Linked DNA regions of Homo sapiens: region 1 is linked to region 2. Evidence: promoter capture Hi-C in human tissues and cell types (Jung and others, 2019). All regions are on one chromosome and are shown on one strand. The core of a region is centred on a gene start or on the middle of the fragment in contact, and the rest is flanking DNA. Distances in the headings are between cores, read along the strand shown.

The links. Contacts are between HindIII fragments. The study calls those that stand out against the background at their distance.
Region 1: a contact is called between a fragment that was not itself captured here and the fragment with the promoter of CMTM8 in region 2, in 1 of the 25 tissues and cell types used here (mesenchymal stem cells).

What each region holds. Positions count from the first base shown.
Region 1 is chr3:31,546,436-31,553,835 of GRCh38, reverse strand. All of the region lies in intron 1 of STT3B (STT3 oligosaccharyltransferase complex catalytic subunit B), which reads right to left. Among named protein-coding and RNA genes, the nearest start is that of STT3B, 17 kb to the right of the region's middle. RefSeq lists an enhancer at 6,232-6,401. The HindIII fragment of the contact is 3,366 bases long and covers 4,347-7,400 here.
Region 2 is chr3:32,233,929-32,240,396 of GRCh38, reverse strand. CMTM8 (CKLF like MARVEL transmembrane domain containing 8) reads right to left here and starts at 1,717. Exons shown (of 4, transcript NM_178868.5): 1 at 1,278-1,717. The coding sequence starts at 1,424. RefSeq lists a silencer at 1,704-1,913. The HindIII fragment of the contact is 9,285 bases long and covers 1-5,746 here.

The DNA of each region.
Region 1 (7,400 bases), core at 4,780-7,279, 690 kb after region 2:
AGAGCTGACAATCTCACAGGAGGAAGAGGCAACAAGAAAATATAATTAAGCAGAGAACCCAGGGGGTACTAAAGGATACCTTCTTCGCTCATTTTTTTTCATTTTTAAAATCTAAAGTATAATTTAGATGCTTTAAAATACACCAATTGACATGTTTCATTAGATGAGGTTTGACAACTGTATGCATAACATCACCCTCATGATGAAAGTTCCCACATGCACCTTTAGGCACTTCTTTCCAAGCATACTTTGACTTCTTTCACCATAGATTCATTATGTTTGTTCTCGGATTTCAGATAAATGGAATAATCGTAATTCTACTTTTTAAAAAGGTGAATCAGGCTTCTTTCATTTAACATGTTTTTGAGATATATTCATATACCAACAGTTTATTCTTTTTTACTGCTGAGTAGTATTCCATTTAATGCATACTACAATCCATTCCCCTTCTGAAGGGCATTTGGGTTGTTTCCGGGGGAGGAAATAATAAGGCTGTACATTCATTCTTATAAAATATGAACAAGCATTCTTGTAAAAGCCTTTTTTAAGGACACAGGTTTTCACTTCTTTGGGTGAATACTTAGCAATTCCACTCCAAAGTTATATAGTAGACACGTATTTAAGAAATACTAAACAGTTCTCCAAAATAGTTACCATTTACACTCCCATCAGCAATGTACAGGAGTTCCAGTTCCTCCCTATCAAGTTTTATTTGGTTTTTTTTTTTTTTTTTTGAGACGGAGTTTCGCTCTGTCGCCCAGGCTGGAGTGCAGTGGCGCGATCTCGACTCACTGCAAGCTCCGCCTCCCGGGTTCACGCCATTCTCCTGCCTCAGCCTCCCGTGTAGCTGGGACTACAGGCACGCGCCACCATGCCCGGCTAATTTTTGTATTTTTAGTAGAGACGGGGTTTCACCGTGTTAGCCAGGATGGTCTCGATCTCCTGACCTCGTGATCCGCCCGTCTCGGCCTCCCAAAGTGCTGGGATTACAGGCGTGAGCCACCGTGCCCGGCCTTATTTGGTTTTAAGAGCCTATCTTATGTATCACACTGGGTGCTAAAGATACTAGCAAACAGGACGGACCTGTCCTCACAAAGCTTACTGTCCAAAGGACTCGTGGATGGCTTCTACAACTGACATCTAACTTAAACCTGGATGAATTATTGAGCAAAAAGGCAGGAAAAGAGGAGAAGTGTTCTTGAGAGAGGAAAGAACACTCGTAAGGGTTAAAAAATACACATAGGTAGTTTTCATAATGCTAACAGAAAATAAAGATAGAACAAGTTTTGTGATGGCAGAAATATGCTTTAAAAAAAAAGGTAAGAAAGCAATGTAGTAAGTATAAGTTTTTAAAAGTCAAATAAGGATTCCTAAAAAGACAATGTGTTTAGTTTATCTCCCTATTATAAGCTCTCATTGTATCATGTTCCTTGACAGCATTGGTCATTCTTACTGGTTCAAGTCTAACTCCCTCACTAAACTAGAATCATGTCTATTTGGGTTCACACTACTGTAGCCATAGTCCCTGGCAAGTAAGAGGTATTCAATCAATATTTTTTGATTACATGAGATCAGAGAGAAGTTAGGTAGTAACATTCAGAGATGGAAAGAAAGGTTTACGAAGGGTATTTGTATTAGTTTCCTATTGCTTATACAGCAATTTTAAACAAACTCAGTGGCTTAAACCAACATATACTAATTCTATCATAGCTTCATGGGTCAGGAATCTAGGCACAGTTTAGCTGGATCTTCTGTTTAGGGTCGCACAAGGTTGACATCAGGATGTCACCAGGGTTGGGTTCTTATGTGGAGGCTAAATTAGGGAAATAATCTGCTTCCAAGCTCACTCAGGCTTCTAGCAGAATTCACTTCCTTGAGGTTATAGGACTGAGGGGCCCTGGTTTCTTCCTGGCTGTTGGTGGAAACATCATAGAGGCTGTTAGTAGTTCCTTGCCACATAGGCTTCCCTAACAGGGCTGCTTATCTTATAATGCCAGCAAGGAGTCTCTGGTGCAAGTCTACTGGTAAGACAAAGTTTTACACAACGTCACATAATCACGGAAGCAACATCCCATCACCCTAGACTCTGTCTATCACTCTGTTCTTCAAAGACTATCAATTAACAGGCTCTCTTGAAAATAACCCTTTCTGTAAAGATTTACAAAGCCACCTATAACAGTTTGTTGTTACACATACGACTACCAAAACTGGCCAAGTTAACATGTATTCGTGGGAACGGTAAATGAGAAAGCGACTAGTACCACCAACAGAAATGACCAATTATGGATGCTAACGTAAGCATAAAAGAATCAGGAAAGAGGCCAGGCACAGTGGCTCATGCAGGTAATCCCAGCACTCTGAGAGGCCAAGGTGGGTGGATCACTTGAGCCCAGGAGTTCAAGACCAGCCTGGGCAACATGGCAAAACCTGTCTCTACCAGAAATTTTTCAAAATTAGCCAGGCGTGGTGGCATGCGCATGTAGTGCCAGCTACTTGAGAGGCTAAGGTGGGAGGATCATTTGAGCCTGGGAGGCGGAGGTTGTAGTGAGCCGAGATGACACCACTGCACTCCACTGTGGGTGACAGAACAAGACCCTATCAAAAACCAAACAAACAAACAAACAAACAAACAAAAAACACCCAAAAACCACAATCAGGAAATAAAGGAAAGGAGTACAATTCAACAAAGGGAGAAGAAAAATAGAAAAGTAAAAGGCAAAAGACAAAGTGTTAGAACACCTCAAGGATTATTCTATTCTTTCTCCTTTACCCTATTAGTAGGCCCTCTCAGGCTATATAAGGTACCAGATCTTTCTTATAGGACTAAGTACCACTATTTGCAACACTTCATATATACCCAAAATTCAGCACTAATAGGGACAGAGAACAACCAAGGTAAAGTACAAAGCAGCTAAGGCCAACTAAAGTTGGCATTTCAATCTACCTTTTATTGCTCCTGCCATCTAGTGGCAGGATCAAAAACAAAAGGATGCCAGACTGATGAACTCTATTAAAAGTAACACATGGAAAAAAAAAATCCCCCTTCAATAGAACGAAAAAAACAGCCTAAATTCAATCTCACCAAGTGATACACACGAGCACTGTCTAGATAATCACATTAAACATAGCCAATTTTATAACTTAAAATATGGAAACTCATGAGAGAGTTATGCTCAAGCCTAATATGATTACATAAATTCCTATCAGTGTTTAAGTAACAGCAGGAAAACAATGATAGAAATTCATAAGGATTACTAATGATATATGAGAATAACTTTTTTTACTAGGTTAACTCTGAAGGGAAAGACTCACAAATGTCATACCACCATAAATGTGACACTGTACAGTTGCAACTGGATCTCAGACTACTCTCACAAACCTCTCTCTCTGCTCTTGCAACTGATGGGTGGTCATTTTGATTGAAGCAGAGAGCATGTCATAAGCTTCAGATAACAAAGTACCTGTCTCTCTACTTTGAGCAACACAGAGAGAAAACCAAAGGTTGTTTAAAGGCTGCAAAAATGTCTTGAAGACTCCTTAGAGCTACTCTGCATCTTCCAATTTAAAGTCAGATGCATGTGCAAATCAAAAAAGAACACACAGGGCAAAACTTTTAAACACACATTAACTGAAAACAGGATTCCTATTTTAGTACCATCTCTTAATTTCTGCCTTAACTGGCAGTGACAGCTGTCAATTTTTATCAGTATCCATTTGAAAAAGGAGGGTCTATTCTGATTTATAAAGGACATTTACTAAACTAATTGGAAAAAAGAAAAAGCAACTGACAACAAAAAAAATTACAACAAAATAAGAGGCTGTTAGAGCATTTTAATGGCACTAAAAAAATCTGAAAAAAAAATCTAAGATCACATACAAAATAGTATATTTGATCAATTAAAACTATCCGGTGACACTTTGCTCAGCTAAGCCCAATAGAGATGGAAATCTAAATAATGTAGGCAGAAGGGATGGGCACAAGTGTTCTTTCTCTTTATATAACGCACGCACAACGTGTATAACATATATTTAAGTCCGGCATAACTATTCATATATTATAGAAACAAATCTCCAATAAATATTATATGTAAACATGTTATATTTACATTTCTTTATTGTTACTAGATATTATCTAAATTAGACATATGATTATGCATTATACTATATAAAGAGGATTTCTAACAATTATTAGATATAGAAATACATAATACACGTTTAAGTCAGACCCATAGTCATATACTATAAATATAAAATGTATAACTAACAAGCATTATCCATAGTAATAATATCCCATGGCCCACAAGTTGGTGTGATGAAAGAGCCAAAGTGGTTGGACAACTAATAAACTCATAAGCAAAATGACCAACTTTCTGAGGACAGTCTCGGTGGAAAGCAACAGCACAAGGTAAACTAAAATAAAACAATCACTCAAAATAAGCAATGTATACAGGCCTGAGAACTTAACTATCATAGAAGTTAGTGGTATAATACTCAACTTAGTCACCAAGACAAATCAGGAGAATCAGGGGGGATGCTATCAATGAGCAGATACTCAACTGTCCCATTTGAAAAAAAAAGTATGTTCCTAATGTGGATATACTTGTTCCTAATGCAGTAATTCAAATAAACAAATAAAAAGATTTAAAACACTGAAGAAAGTCAGTCCTAGTTTTATTATCTCTACGACTTTGGTAAAGTTACTTAGCCTTAGGCCTCAGGCTCCTCATCTATCAAATAAAACATCTACATCAGTCTTTTCCATGAATTGCATGGAACATTAATTAAAAAAAAATTAAAATCTTACAGTGATTCATAAATTAAATACGGTAAATACCAGATTAAATAAAATTAACAGTTAACTGAACAACTTCTTAAGACTGTAACATGGTAATGTGTATTGCATATCAGTATCAAAGAATGTAGTAAGCAGTTTTTTTCCCAAATTCAAATTATCAAAGATTATTTTGCTTAGAAGTGTAATTTCTGGAATATGTGGTCTGCAGAACATACTTTGGCAAAATAATAATTTCTTTGTGCTCGCCAGGTATGAAGTTTGTTCCATATTACAGGGAAACCAAAACTTATCTCCCTCAAAGGGGGGAAGGTTCTTCACCCCCTTTCCGAACAGAAAATATCAGCAAACTAATGACGGAGCAGAGAAAGAAGAGAATACAAGGAGAATAAATCAGTTTTCTCCTACCTTTAGAGACAGGTTGAGGAGAGGTGGTCAATACTGAACTATAGGGAAGCTTTACCATCCTTAACATATTTAAAATAACTTAAATTTCTGTAAAATAATAACATGCATTAAACTCCTCAGAGAATAGCATGTTTGGTATACTCTATTTTAAAATTTATTTTGAGAATACAAATGTTAAAAATACATTTATTAAATTTTAAATGGGCTCATTTTGTTCCCTATTTTACAAATGAGTCATTTGTAAAACAGGGAAAAAAATGGCTGTTTTTTTCTCCCCGGTTTCACAGAAACATTTTTTTTCCCTGTTTTAAATGGCTCATTTTCCCTGTGTTACTATGCTCAACCTGGTGAAATCTTTTTGCCAAACTACTTGACACTTATACTTTATCACAGTAACATTATATCAGCATTATTATAGCAAATATGTTATACTTTAGTTTACTTCTTAGGCAAGAATAACTACCTCTTTAAGACACTTAAAATGGAAGAATTCGGGGCAGGAAAGAATAAAAACAAATGAGGCTCAATCATGCAATGGCTGGAATCACCACTCCTGTTCCAACCAAACAGGAAGGTAAATGACCAAACATTACTTGGTCAAAAGTCTCAAGATGCTCTGCATTTCATTACATGTCCAAGAATCCTTCCACTAAGTATTATTATTTCCACTCTGTCTTTGAATATTAGATCCAAGAAATCTGAGGTGACATGAAAATAAGTCATGCTGCCTGAAGCACTGCTTTTACACTGCAGAGATATGCTGAGGTGCCTTCAACACATAGAATTTTAAGGATCAGAAACTATACTTTTACACAGAACAAATCTTCCTAATTTGAAGGTTGGGAAGAAGTGTCTACAAATTTATTGTCTTTTTGTACTTGTTCAGGCTGTTTTATCCAAAGCTTTGCATTTTGGAATTCAGAATTGTTCTGTGGCATTTCAGTTTAAACCAACTGAGTTGTACTTGATGCGTGCCTACAGCGTTCTTCTGAGATGGACTCTCGTTCTGTCATGCAGGTTGGAGTGCAGTGGCACGATCTCAGCTCACTGCAACTTCCGCCTCCAGGGTTCATGCAATTATTGTGACTCAGCCTCTCGAGTAGCTGGGATTACAGGCATGCACCACCATGCCCGGCTGATTTTTTGTATTTTTAGTAGAGACGGGGTTTCACCATATTGGCCAGACTGGTCTCGAACTCCTGACCTCAAGTGATCCTCCCAAAGTGTGGAAATGACAGGTGTGAGCCACCGCACCCGACCTGCAATGTTCTTTTTAAAGTATATAATGCAAACATTTGAATATTAATTATAAATCTCTGGCTTCTATTATAATTTTGCAAAATATTTCGCCACTACATTTAAGATGGATTTTGAATATGCTGGCAGAACCTGGTTGATCCAAACGAATAATTTAGGGAAAAAAAATTGAGGAATAAGGAGGGCAGATAAGACTAGAAAGAACTTGGGGCTGAACTTACTGCCTACTCTGTCACTCCAGGCAAGTCCTCTCACATCAAACGTCCTCAGTCCACTCATAGCAAAAGTCACAGTTACATAAAAATTTATAAGTAAATAAAAATACTTGTAAATTCTTCCAAGCCTCAATTATTTGGAGGGGAAGGGGTACAACAGGTAGGTTGAGCAAAGCATCATGCTGATTCATAATTGTACACCTTTGCAAATGCTATTCTTTGTAACAAAAATGTCACCCTGGAGGCTGACTTCAAGGCCTTTCCTTTTAACATACTAAGCAGTACTCTCTCATCTGTAAAATGGGGGCAATAAAATATCTAATAGGATTGCTTTAAGGACCAATTAGGCACAAACTGGAATAAGATATCTGCAACAAATTTAACCCAGACTTAGGATGCAAAATACATATACATATAACCTCCTACTAAATTAGTGAGACTAAACAACCCAGTCTAAAACTTTGGGAGAGACATGAACAGATATTTTACGGGAGATAAAAATGATAAACACATTGTGGTAAGTGTTTCCAAAGATGACCTTAAACAATTCTGCCCCTACCTGTATATGCATCTCCTCTCAACATTGAGCTAGGTCTGTGTGTATTTTGAGAACAACAAAATATAGCTGAAGTTACTTGTGTCTATTCCAAGCTTAACCCTTAGTTGACCTGGCAGCTTTCTCCCCCTTTGAAATGTTCTTTCTCAGAACCCCGCTGCAATGCTGAGGC
Region 2 (6,468 bases), core at 468-2,967:
GCTAGGCCCTGCAAGGCGATTCCAATACCTTCAGCTTTTGAGTCTCCTGAAGTCCTCAATACTCGCTGAGGGAACCAGCTGGGAGAGGAGCTAAGCCAACACTTCTCATACCTTATGTGCATTATGACCACCAGGGGCTTCATAGAGCAGGTCCGGGTGGTATCTGAGACTGGGGGAGCAAGCAAGCTACTTGAGGTACACAAGATTTACTTCAGGTTTCTCAAAGGAACCGCCCAGGTCTTCAGTCACTTCTGCACCATGATGGTGTGCCCATTCTCTAACTCCCACATAGGCTCATTTTCAATTCCCAAATATTTAACAAAAGTCTGTGAGAGATGACAGAGGGGCACTGCTGGGGCAGCTGGAAGCTGTCTCAACTGCTTGCAGTTATGAGCACGGCCCTGCAGAAAGGCAGGCCTGGGTTTGAATCCATGCTTCACCATCCACCGGTGTGATTTACGTCCCCTCTCTAGGCCTTCACAGGGGAGGGTGGTCGTTGGATTACACGAGGGTATGAGGACATCTAAAGGGCTTGACAAGATCCTGGTACACGAAGAAGACTCAAACAGTGACCACCTCTAACTGCTGACAGGACTCCAGTCCTTTCTCAGCTATGAAGGACTGGCTGGGACTTCTGGGAAGATCACGTGAGTTTTCAGCCTCTATGCCCTCCAATGAAGAGAAGAACGCCCATGCCCTGCCTCCTTCCCAGGAATGTTCTGAGCCTAAACCAGGATGTGCACAGCACCATGCAAAAGACCTCTTTGGTCCTAAAATAGGTTATGGCACTCAGATTTTATTCAGTAAAATTTTCCTGACTCACCTCAATGTTACTACCAGGGAGATAATTAGGAAAAGAAAGAAGCCCTTTCCTCTTCCCCTGATCTTAGGAAGCTTTATTTTCAGGGAGGAGGCCATCCACGTGGAGATCAGGTGAGAAAGGCACCAGGTGTCTCTGACACTCAACACAAACTCAATAGCCACTAAGCCAAGCTTCCTGCTCCCAGGATCTGCCGCCGCCACCGAGAGGACCCAACAAGCTGAATTTCTCCCACAGCAAGACATCCTGAGGATCACAACCCTTTCTTCCCAGGACAGCCCGAGTTTCCTGGACCTTGTTTAGAGTCTTTCACTTTGGGAAGAAGGCGAGGCTGAGCAAAAACGGTTCCCTAAAGCCCGCGGGAAGATCTGAGCAGGCTCCATCCCGAGAAGCACGGCGGAAGCACGCGCCGGGGTCCAGCTGAGCCCCCCGCCACCCCCGGCCCGTCGGCACTCACGATCTCGGCCACGATGAGGAAGCCGGGCAGGGTGCGGAGGAACTCCCGGTCGTAGGCGAAGCTGCTGCTGCTGGTGGAGAAGTTCTCTGCGAAGGAGCTGGCGGTGGTGGTGACTGTGTGCGAGCGGGCGCGCTGCGGCTCCTCCATCGTCGAGCCACTGCCGGGCTGGCGCGTCCCCAGGGACCCCGGCGGGTCTGGGGCTGGACGCGCGGCCCTGCGCCCTGGGGACACAGGCGCGGGGGAGGGGAGCGCGGCCCGCGCGGGGCAGGAGGTGCGAGGGGGGCGCCCGCCGGGGGCTGTCCAGGCGCGGCGGGTGTCCCTCTAGTGCGCGGTGCCCCTAGCGCCTCGGTGCGCGGGCTCCCGAGCTGCGCTGGGGCCCTAGAGGAAGAGGAGAGCGAGCGAGGGGAGGCTGCCGGGCAGCCGGGGAAGGCGGTGGAGGCCCGGAGGAGGGGAGGGGGCGGGGAGAGGGGCGGGCGGGAGGCGGGCAGGAGAGGGACCGCCCCGCGGAGGCGCCGCGGACGCCCGCCCTCTTCACCTGTTGCCCGACTCCCAGCGGCGGAGAAGGCGCCGCGTCGCACCCAGGGTGGCTGGGTTGGCAGCCTGGCGGGCGGCGCGGAGGAGAGGGCGCAGGGGTCCTTCTGGCCGTCTTCCGCTCCCCCTCCCGGCCTTTACTTCTGTCAGGCCCCGCCTGGCCCAGGCCCGCAGCCTGTTTCCTTCCACCTGGGCGGGTCGGGGGCTGCGGGCATTGGGGCCCCTTAAGGAAACCCAGGCCTCCAGGGACTCCGCCGCTCCAGGACTCGGCGCGGAGGGAATGACTGAGCGACGACCGAGGCAGGGGGTGATGTGGTACCTCGAATGCTGTGGAAATGGCAGGAATGATGACCCGGCCGGACCTTAGACCCGAGATCGATGAGAGGCCGCCAGCACTGCCCGGGAGACGGCCCGCTCTTCTCCCCCTCCTGCTGCGGCCGCCGCCAGAGCCCGGTGTTATTTCCTGCCCCTCCTGTCGGGAACAATTTGAGGAACCAACTTAATCGCTTGGCTTTGAGGGCGCGACGCTTCCAGGCGCTCTCCGCGGCTCTGTCCCGCGGACCGGTGGAGCCTGGGTGACGGCGCCTGGGCCGGAGGAGGGGAGATGTTTGGGGTCCCTGGCCAGGATGAATCAGCGTAACCGTCCCGTCACCCTCGGGGAAAAAAAATGTTTCAAGAAGGCTTGAAGGGTGTGATTTGTGTAATGTTAACTTTAGGACAAATGAGCTGTGCTTTCCTGGCATGGGAAGGGGATGGGGGTCCTCATTTAGTGAGGCAGTTTGTAACAGGGTCAGGGAAGAACTGAGCTCGGCTGCGTGCGTTTATCGGCTGTATGACCCAGAGCGAGTGGCTCTAGTTTTTGGACCTCAGTAATGCCATCTCTAAAATGCAGGCTTTGACAGATGGACCTCTGAACAAAAAGATTATCTTCCGCTTGGTCCCTCCTTCTATTTTGTGAAAGGGTAGCAAGAAACATTTTATCTGGAAGCCACCAAAAGAAAAGGAAATAATCTTTGGCTATAAATCGAGGGTATCTTTGATTCACAGTGAAGGCATTTCTGCTGATCTGTTCCAAGACAGGTTAAAAACGAGATCAGAAGGGACATTTTCTTCACAGTGTCTTATCAAGTGTGCTGAGAAGAAAGCAAAAACGACAATCTAATAAAATAAAACAAGGAATTAGTGTCTTTTAAGTCTAGGGCCTAGCCAGGAAGACCTCCAGGAGTAAAAGTTAAGGCTTCAAAAGCATGGCAAAGATGTAGATTTGGAGAGATTCCATCCATGTGCATTTGGTAAGCACCTTGGGCTGGTGGGTAAATTCTTAAAATTTAAAATATAGCACTTCTCCCTGGAGCAGTAGTTCTCAAAGTGGTCCTTGGACCAACAGCAGGTAAGTTCCCTGGGAACTTATCAAAAATGCAAGGTCTCAAGCCCCACCCCCAGACCCTCTGAATCAGAAACTCTGAGGGTGGAGCCAGGAAGCTGTGTTTGAACAAGCCCTCCAAAAGACACTGATGCATGCTGAAGTTAGCTGCTGCTTTAGAGAAACTGTTAATGAGTTTGGGGAAATAAGAGATACATACATGAAATGGCTGGAGGAGACTCAAGCATTATGCATGACATTTAGTGAACGTAAAAGACGGAGTCTAGACAACTTTATTTCCATAATATTAACAAAGGACAATCCTCTCTTAAAATTCCTGGGGTCAGATGAATTTCTAAATTCAGATTTTGTTTTTCAATTTAGAAAGGTAAAATGTGCATGTACCATATATTACATAATACCTTTGGTAAGGTCTGGGGTGACACTCTAATATACTAATTTTCTGCAAGGGAAATCATGAATGACATAAGTGTATGCTTGGATTATCTACTGCAATGTAATAAATGTTCACAAAATATTAGTGGCTTAAAATCACCATTTTATTTGCTCAGAAATCTGTTGTGTCAGGAATTTGGGAAGGGCTTGGCTGGCAGGTTCTTCTGCTTTGCATGGTGTGATTGGAGTCATTTACTCAGCTGCTTTCAGTTGGTGACTTGGCAGGGCCAGAAAGTCCAAAAAGTCTTCATTCCCATTTGAGCATTTCAGTGCCCTTTCAACTTGGGCTTTCTAACAGTATGATAAGCTCATGGTGGTTGGACTTCTACCTGGCAGCTGGCTACTGGAAGAGACTTTCTAAGAGGGGCAAATGCAGAAGCAGATCTCTTAAGGCCCAGCCCTGAAGGTTACACGGACTCATTTCCACCACATTCTATTGGTCTAAGCCAATGAATGACAAGGCCAGCCAGAGTCACGCAGAGGGGAAACAGATACCACCTGTGGATGGGAGGAGCAGTAAAGAATTGTGGCTGTCTTTTAATCTAGGTGAGATAAAGACAAAGACAATAAATAGCTTCACATCTGTTTAGGTTATGTTTTTCTACCAAATATGTTTTCTGCAAGCTCAGGAAAAAAAATTTTGGTTTCAGCTTTTGGGATTTCAGAATCACAGAGAAAAAATTATACACTGGTTGCTTGAAAACTAGCTGCCCCTTTCCAACTGCTGCCTACATTTGGGTGATTATCTTCCACCTGAAACTCTACTGATTGGTGCCCATTCTTCCAATAACACCCTTATCCAGTCCACCTTCCGTCTTCCTGCAAGAATTATTGTCCTGAAACCCCAGACTAAGGTACCACTGTGCACAGCATAAGGGCCTATATAAGATATTCAGCCTATCTCTTCTGATCCCTTTTCTCAACCACTTTAGAATGCATACTGTTTCAGCCCCAGATACACTTTGTATATATCACTGTAAGTGTGACCACTTTATGCCCATAGCCAGCTTTTCTCTTAGCCTACAAAGCCTCCCACCTTCACACACAGCTCACAATCTGCAGTCTTCATGGCCCATTTTAAATGCCACCTTTTCTGTGGTTTCTTTGGATTTCCATGAGCTGTTGTTATTTTCTTTTTTGTTTTAGAATTCATTGACTTTATGCACTTCTTTTACAACTTCTCAAGATATATGAATTACCCTTCCTTGTCTGCCCCCTGCTATAGGAGGTATTGAACAAATGCTGAGGCCCAAACTTTTTTTTTTTTTTTTGGAGACAGGGTCTTGTTCTGTCACCCAGGCTGGAGTGCAGTGGCATAGTCACAGCTCACTGCAGCCTTGACCTCCTAGGCTTAAGCAATCCTCCCCACTCAGCCACCTGAGTAGCTGGGACTACAGGCAGGCACAACTACATCCAGCTAATTTGTTTTTTATCCTTTGTAGAGGTGAGGTCCCACTTAGTTGCCCAGGCTGGTCTCAAATTCCTAAACTCAAGTGATCTTCCCACCTCAGCCTCCCAAAGTGCTGGGATTACAGGCATGAGCCACCATGCTGGCTCCAAGCTTCATTCTTAAGTGCAGAAAAATGTCAAAAGAAAAGCTAAGCCCTGGGCTCCCATAATGACTTAACACAGAAGACAGCTTCAAGCTGAGACTTGTGGGAAGTATTTGATTTGTAAAAATGGAGAAGAAAATGGAAACAGGTACAGCCCAAGTGATACCACATGTGCCAGGATGAGCAGGTCCTGTGCAAATTAGTACAGAAAAATCTAAGATCTGTTAGCATGGAGTGTAGGGTTAAGGGTTTATGCAGAGTCTAAAATATGGATGCCACAAGGCCATATTACTCAACCAACCAAAGTCATAAGACACAGCACTCTCAAAGGTCTGTAGGGCCCAGGCCATTCAATGGAAGCCCAGGACTCATTAATAATTGAAAGAAATAAATGGACAGCTTATGACTTCCACCTGCTCTCTGAGAAAGAGAGGATCAAGGGACATTCCCATTTTTTAGGTAATTTTCATAGGTTTATGTTTCTCTTCACTGTTATTCTAATTTTAAATTATGGTGGTTTCATTCAAGAATCATCAATGAATGTTAAAATTAGTGGGTGAAAGTGTGATGAGAAAAAGGATATTTACATCATCTCTTAAAAAATAGAAGTAACAAAATAACAAAAAGATATATCATTTCAAAGTCTTCAGAGGATACTATTCTCCCTTTGAAATTCATAACTGTACAGTGGAGAAACCTTTGGGATATCACCAGACATTATGTACCTCCTAATATGATGTAGTGAGATGGATACAACATCACTTCTGTGATATTCTTACCAAATGCATAACCTGAATTTAATCATGAGGAGGGAGCAGACAGACTGAAATTGAGGGACAGTTTATTAAGTGTCAAGTTCATGAAAGACAAACACTAAGGAACTGTTCCATACTAAAAGAGACTAAGGAGACCTGACAATGAAATGCAATGTGACATCCTGGATTAGAGCCTGGGCTGGAAAAAGAACAATAGTGGGACAATTGGTGAAATTAGAATACATTGTGTAGATCAGATAAACATTGTATCAGTGTTACATTGATACAATGACATTGTATTAGTGTTAATTTCGTGATTTTGATACTTATACTTAAATAAGTGTTAACATTTTGAGTATCAGTAAAAGCTTATATAAAATCTTTTTACTATTTTCCCAACTTTTTTTTTTTTTTGGAGATGGAGTCTCGTTCTGTTGCCCAGGCTGCAACCTCCACCTCCTGGGTTCAAGTAACTCTCCTGCCTCAGCCTCCCGAGTAGCTGGGACTACAGGCGCCCACCACCACGCCCGGCT